Regions from separate parts of the Homo sapiens genome. Here region 1 is linked to region 2. Evidence: promoter capture Hi-C in 16 types of primary human blood cells and fetal thymus (Javierre and others, 2016). All regions are on one chromosome and are shown on one strand. Each heading gives the region's core, a stretch centred on a gene start or on the middle of the fragment in contact. The rest is flanking DNA. Distances are from core to core; before and after follow the strand shown.

Region 1 (3,653 bases), core at 75-2,574, 900 kb before region 2:
GTTTTTGTTTGTTAGATGGTTGGTTTTGGTTTTTGGTTTTTTCCATGAGAGATTATTTGCATCTATTCTGCAGCAGGATTTTTAAAAATAGTCACATCTTTTGCTTCAAATTAGAGACTACACTCAGAAAAATTCACTCCAGTATTCCCACATTATACCGCCTCTACACATTTATAACCAAATTCCAAATCTCTGACATATACCATAGATAAGGCTTGTAATCTATTTAGTATGTTAAGTTTATTGGAAGCTTTCTTGAAGCACTGTTTTCTATAGTAAAGTCAATGAGAAAAAGAGAATAGGATACAAAACCATCATTGGTTGTAAAGAAATACTTGCAAAAGGCAGGGAGCCTTGATAAGCCCAACAAAATGTTTAGTATCCGTAGCTTTTAGTTGCTTCATGGATATGTACAGAAGAGTATTAAACTTCTAATAACAAGTATGTAGAACTTTCAACTGATGACAGAACCTGTTTTTCCATGTTAAATGAAGACCACAGATTTCATTCAAAGTTTAACATTTTCAAACTGTTCTCAAAGTAAAAACTAATAAAAAATGATATGCCAATATGAGAATCAGAGAAAATAAATTTTAATCAGGAGATAAAATTATTTTCAAAGACAAAACTAGTACCCCAAAACCTTGTTACTGATTAGTTTCTAACTTTGAAAGAAAACCTCAAAATGATCATGACTTATCTTTGGAGAAGTTGACTATGGCCAGGCATATCAGTGGATTTATTTTTTAAATCAGGCTATAATAATTTAGTCATATTATTTTCTTCAGTTGTTTCTGATTCTTTCAAAACATCTAGAGTTTTTAAATTTTTAACTACTTACAGAAATAAACATTTTTTTCTGCATTATTTCAGACTTTTTTTCATGTACACCTTCTAAAATAAAAGTGTTTCTCAATAAGACAAACAAAGCCCAAGCTAAAAATATGTTATATCTTTCTTGAAACATATGGCCAAACTAACTAAAAGACAGCTGTCAAACACCATGTACCTTTACATTGTGTAGAAACCTTCTAAAAGTAAACAGAAAAACACATGGGATACAACAAAAGAGGACAGGAAACACTAATACAGAAAGAATAGAAATCTTTTTCTTGACATAATTTTATGTAAAATCTCAAAAATATGTTTCTATATTTAAAAAAATAATAAACTGTAGATCTACACATTCCTTGGTGTGGCTCATACTGTTTTAAACTAAAAGTTACCTTAAGACTTCTAGAAAGAAAAAGGGAACTAACTCACCGATACATCATTGCCAACCAGCAATGAAGAGTCCTGTGAAGGTCGAGGTCTACATCCAAGTGTGTGAATCCAGCTCTATCAATGACTTTGTGGGCTGAATTGAAGTGAGGAAATAAGTCACTGATGATCTCAACAGAACCAGTCTGACAAGTCTTGGCTGGTGTAGTGGGGACTATATGTGACTAGCAGGACAAGGACAAATTTTACAGGGAGCAAGAGCAAAAAATAAATTTATAATTTATTGTTTTAAGATAATTTCTTTTAAGTATTAGTGTAAACCAGATTTTTTAGAAAAGTCAGACGTATAAATTTGGAAAGAAATTTTAAAACTATCTTGCTTGACCTTCTCTTGTTTACAGAGAAGAAACTGAGGTTTAATTAAGTTAAATGACTTGGTCAAAAACCAAATAGTTATTAAATTGCCAAGCCAGGACTGACATTCATATTTTTTAAACTAGCCTGACACAATTTGCATTCGATTATGTACATAATAAAAATTTCACTTTGGTTTTAACTATGTTAGCCATTGAAAATACACTAGAGATTAGAAAAGCATTAATATTTTTAAATTATGTGGCATCATTCTTCTAGAAAAATCAGTTAGTTTGCAAATGTCAACCCATACTTAAGACGTTATATTTCTTTCATTATAGTGGAGACAGGCATATCAACTCACGCTGAATCACTACTGTCTTATTTCTAGGGTGAAAATTACATTTTTTTAAACGTGTGCTCACATACTATGCAAATATCTGTGTGTTTGTGTTAGGTATAATCTCTAAATTGCTTTCCCTAATCCTTACAAAACAGAGTAGGTGTTTCTCCTCTGTGCTTTCATGGTATCATAATACTTACCTCATTATACTAGAAATTTTATTAATTGTATCTCAACTCCACAAGGTTGTGAATTCTTAACAGACTGAAACCCTCTTCCTAGCATATTCAGGCTCTCAAAAATATGCATAAAAAGAATGAGTAGAGGGCAGGTTGCAAGGAAAGGAGGAGAAAAAGAGGGGGTATAACCCATCCTAAAAAGCACCTTAAAAATATTGTTTAATTTCATTACATATCCATTTAGCCAACAGCTCACCTAAACAGATGCAGGAGTTGGAATTTATGTAATGTGTGGGATCAGACGGCCAAGAATTGGAATCATTCACTAGCAGTAACCCAAGAAACCTCTGTGCTGAGGCATACTGTGCTAGGGGCTACCAACATATATCCTTTTTATTCTGGTCACTAGGTCACTTATCCTGATGAATAGCATGGATATTTATTTACTTAAAGTCATTCAATATATAGTATTAGGTTTCTGTATACTCATTTAAAAATTACACTTTAGCCAAAAATAAAGAGGCAATAATAACAGTAAAAACTTCTGGGTTATGAGATTAAGCTGTTCTTATACAGCCTTTAACAAAGTGAAATCTCTGCCAATGAAATGTTAATATGGTTTAATAATACTATGTTCTATTTTATACTCACATTTTATGAAAATATTGATAATACTTTTGTTTTCAAAGGAAAACAGATTCCCTCTCAGTGTAACTTTGGGCCAAGACTTGCCAGACTTATTTTAACAAAATCTCAAGACATTTGTTTCTTTCACAAAATCAAGATTTCAAATTCAAATAAATTCTTTATATAGGCCTATGGACCTGTATACTTAGGGTAATATATAACCTAGAATTGTAGATACAGAAAATGAGAGGGCTATCATGAATTTTTTTAAAACTCTGTGAGTATAAGCTACAATTTGTAGAAAATTAAGAGATTACGCATATGTAAATAAAGGACAAGTGAATGTCAGACTAAAGATATTAAAAATATGTCTTCCTTGCTATATTAATGGCCTTTGTTCAGTCTGCTCAATGGGCATTGCAGTGTATATTATCAAATTTTATGATATATCTTACACTTTAGTAGAAATTTGAATGGCAAGGAAAGAAGAAGGAATGAAACATTAGAGTCATAATTTTGTCTTCCAAAAGTTCGAAAAAGCAAAAGTTTGTCTTTCATTCAAATTTTTGTTGCTGTTTTTTCTAAAACCATAAATTTTATTCTGCAATACTTTTGTCCTAAACTACAGTGTGAAGAAAATGTTTTCAAAGAGTTACTCTTCTTTTTGTGTGTTGGTCTGTGTTCCCTGTGCCATTCTGTGCAATGTCAGGAACAGTCAGGAGAAATATATTTGTGGACTTGAGTCTGTTAGAAATCCACAGTAGATATCTTACATTGCATAATAAGTAAAATAGCAATGTGACCACAGACATTTTTATCACCAACAAATTATTCTACAGTCCTTTTTATACTTAGCAATGTCAAAGCAATGAGGCATCTTATGGCTTTAAACTAGAAAAGTATAGTTCCCAGGTGGCTAGTCATAGATG
Region 2 (3,621 bases), core at 697-3,196:
AAGTAGTTGTGAAAGAAAACTTCAAGATTGTCCTAGCAGTTCATAAGAAGTAATCTTTGATGTATTTTGGGGGGAGATTTATAACGACAAACTTGGGTTTTTAAATAAATATTACTCCCCCCATTAATTAGCAATCCTATTTTAGGATACTAAAACCATGGTGGGCTATTAAGTACTACAACAAGTACATATGGAAGTAAAACGTTTCTCTGGAAACTGTGGAGTCTCCACAACTGTTTTTATAAGAGTACTGCTCTATTTTCTTTAGAACAGTTAATCCTCAACGCCCTCTGTGGCCTGCTTTCTGCAGCAGCACAAGCCATTGCATTCCAAATTTCTCAAAATAAGTGTGGGACTTAGTTTCCAGTGGAAGCAGGAGGATATAATTTTACATGTGGGACTTTACATCTATAATCGTGCTTGCTAAAATTTCTTACCCAGAGGCAAAGAGTGTAGTGATTAAGAGCTCAGTTGTGGAGTGAGAATTCTTGGGATAATAACCCATCCTACCATTTAGTGGTGATGTGATCTTGGGTAAGACACTTAGCTCTCTGTGTTTCAGTGCCCTTGTTTATAAAACAGGAATATTAATTGTTCTCTTCAATGCATGCAAAGCATTTCAGAACTGGGCATAGAGTATGCAGTCAATAAATGTTAGTGTTTATCATTATCTATTCCAAATGTGACAGCACCAAATTATAAGTTGGACTGATTGGCAAAACTGCCAAACATAGTAAAAAACTCTCCATAATGATTCCAATAGCTTTATTATTGAATTCTTACTATGTTCCAAACATTGTGCTTAGATCTTAACAGGAATTATTCAATTACAACATCTCAACCACTTTAATAGTATTCTCATTTTGCAGACAAGAGAATTAAGGAACAGATAACTTAGTTGCCCATAATGGCAGAATTAATGGAATGGAGTGCAATCCAGGCCTAATTTCAGTCAGAGATCATAGTTCCTTTTTTTCTATCAAAAAAATAAATAAAATAAAAAAATTGGCCTTCATAGTTGACAGCATTTGTTAAAGCACTACATGTTTTAAAAATCTATTAGCTCAACTCCTGATTAATGTATTTATTCAATTAGTAAACTATTTTCTGATTAGAATTTTCTTGTAATTTTAAATTAAATAATAAAATAAGATACAGCTTCATAGAATCATACACTGGTCAGGTGAGAAGTCTTCAGAGCGTCTAATTTAGACTTCCATTCTATCACTATGGAAACACCCAGAATGGTGCCGCAATTTTGCCCTCCATAACATAGCTAGTCAATGGCTGGCAGGTTTCAGGATTCTGTATAGAATTCTTTTCAGTGCATCATACTTAAATGATAGATATTTACGTGGGTCATTTGTTGGCAATGCATCATAAAAATATCGCCCACATACTTGAAAAAGAATACAAGCCATCATCACCATTATTATACATAATTATTCAATTATTTTCAGAGATGATGGTTAGATGGGCTGGGCGTGGCTGACGAATCTGCATTAGAAAAATCTCTTCAAAAAAAGATTCTATTAAAAAAAAAGTCGTCTGCAATTTCTACCTCTCATCCTTCCAAGTATTACTTATTATTCCTTAATAGAACTGTTGAGAAGTTTTACATTGGGCACAAGGAGCGGTTCCCAGGATCGTGCCTTCCTAATAAAAGCCCAGTCTCGCGCCTGTCCCGGGCGCGGCGCTGAGGAAGGGAGGTGGGAAGAGCAGAGCGGCTAGAGGTAGGGCGGGCGGGTGGGTCTGCAGGCTGGAGGGCCGTTGGCCTGGAGCATGAAGGGGCGAGCCCACTAACGGCTTGCTTCCTATTGGACGGCGCGGCCCGTTTTGCGCATGTGTCTCCGGGTTCAAACCCAGGCACAGGCCAAGCGTTCTTGTTTGTTGAGGGCGGAGCCAATGGCGGGGGAGTGTTGTTAGCGCGCGCCTTCCGGATCGCAGCTCTCGCGGCAGTCGCCTGAGACTTAAGGTTATTGCTTGGCCGCGGCCTGGTATTCCGGCGATTCGTTTCTTGCTCGGCTTCCTGGAGCTGTGGTCCGTGTGGGCTTCCACCTCAGACAGTTGCGCTGGCTCAGCGGGGCCGGAACATGGCTGCGTCCGGTCTGGTAAGTGCAGGCCCCCCGCTCCAGGCGAGTGGTTGAGCGGCTGGCTGGGGCACGGGCGCCCGAGGCTGGGGAGAAGGAAATGCTAGGCTGAGGCTGTGATCTCTGAGGGATTTCAGTGGGAAAGCCGCAGGAATTTTTGAAATCAAGTGTGATCGTGTGTCGATAACCAGAGTTAATTTACTGTACTTTTATTATTTCTTAAGTTTTCATGTCGTCATTTCGTCTGTGCCTACGTCTTACTCTTGAGAGGTGCTTGTGATTTCTGCTGGGTTTTTTTTTGTTTTTGTTTTTGAGACGGGGTCTTGCTCTGTCCCCCAGGCTGGAGTGCAGTGGCGCGATCTTGGCTTCTGCTTTTTAGTCTAGCTCCAGTTCCTAGGCCTCCAAATAACTTTTCTCCCCATGGTAGAAGTATTGAAACGCCTTAAAAGTGTGTCTTTGCGTCACACTTGGTAGTTGGGAGAAACAGATTATGTAACAAGTACGTCTCGAAATAATTTGACGTTTTCAGTTCTTCTGTCAAAATGGTGGCCTTTTATGCAGTTCTTGAGGCTGATTTATGGAGCATATGTTATTGACAAACTCTTCTGAAAGACAGCTATCAGTTAAAAGGTACAAGCTGTGAATGACTAATGGGGGCGACAACTCATTTTGTTTACATATTTCTGGACTTCTTTGGTGTTCACTATTCTATATTTCATACTTTGGTTATGGTTACTATATAAAAATCCGTATCATTTCTTTTCTAATTTATCTCCCCTTCTAAGAAAATCTTCAGCTTCGATGATCTCCCATTATGTGACGTTATACATATAAACATAAAGAGTTGTATGAAAGAATAATATAATCTATACTTTTTACTATGAGCACATATATTGTTTACATTATATATAATCAGAAGAAAGCAATAAAGCCATTCTCACTGTGGGGAGAGAAGCGGAATAAAGCTTACCAGATGCCTGCAGTTCAGTTTTTAAATGCCTGTCATAACCTATGTTATGTCATAACATAACCTCAAAATTGTTTTGAGCCCTTAGGAGATGTTTGGTGTATAGCATGCCCATACTGGATGAAGTTACTTTGAAAATAAATTTTACTCGACTCTATCTTAAAGAAACCAAATTGATGATTTACTTTTCTTTCAGGATCATCTCAAAAATGGCTACAGAAGAAGATTTTGTCGACCTTCCAGGTGATTTACGTACTTAAGCTTTTAAGATTATTTTTATTCTCATCGTTAATAGATTTTTAAATGAAGAAAGGAAAAACTATCACCTCTGACTAATATAATGATTTCTGTGCCCACTGATTAAGGGTAGTCATCTTATACTAACGGGAATGTTAATGCAAGCAGTGCAATGACTTTGTGGCTGTGAAAAAAGAAATTCACCTGATAAAATAGTGGAACCAGGAAGAGGGAGTCTCAGTTCTGACTAAGTGACTGCCATGGGAAAAGCATTTTGTAGAATGAATCAAATGGTAAAATTAGAAAGATGTAGCTTATTCAGTGGGG

Evidence for each region. Contacts are between HindIII fragments. The CHiCAGO score rates a contact against its expected background, and 5 or more counts as called.
Region 1: a contact is called between the fragment with the promoter of TMPRSS11E here and the fragment with the promoter of CENPC in region 2, in 4 of 17 cell types (non-activated CD4 T cells, total CD4 T cells, total CD8 T cells and 1 more). The highest score is 7.7, in non-activated CD4 T cells.

Annotation. Positions count from the first base shown.
Region 1 is chr4:68,445,134-68,448,786 of GRCh38, reverse strand. TMPRSS11E (transmembrane serine protease 11E) reads right to left here and starts at 1,324. Exons shown (of 10, transcript NM_014058.4): 1 at 1,264-1,324. The coding sequence starts at 1,274. The HindIII fragment of the contact is 3,931 bases long and covers 253-3,653 here.
Region 2 is chr4:67,543,828-67,547,448 of GRCh38, reverse strand. It overlaps CENPC (centromere protein C), which reads left to right and starts at 1,946. Exons shown (of 19, transcript NM_001812.4): 1 at 1,946-2,111; 2 at 3,254-3,300. The coding sequence starts at 2,094. RefSeq lists a silencer at 1,662-1,801 and enhancers at 1,624-2,174, 1,952-2,191. The HindIII fragment of the contact is 5,245 bases long and covers 1-3,057 here.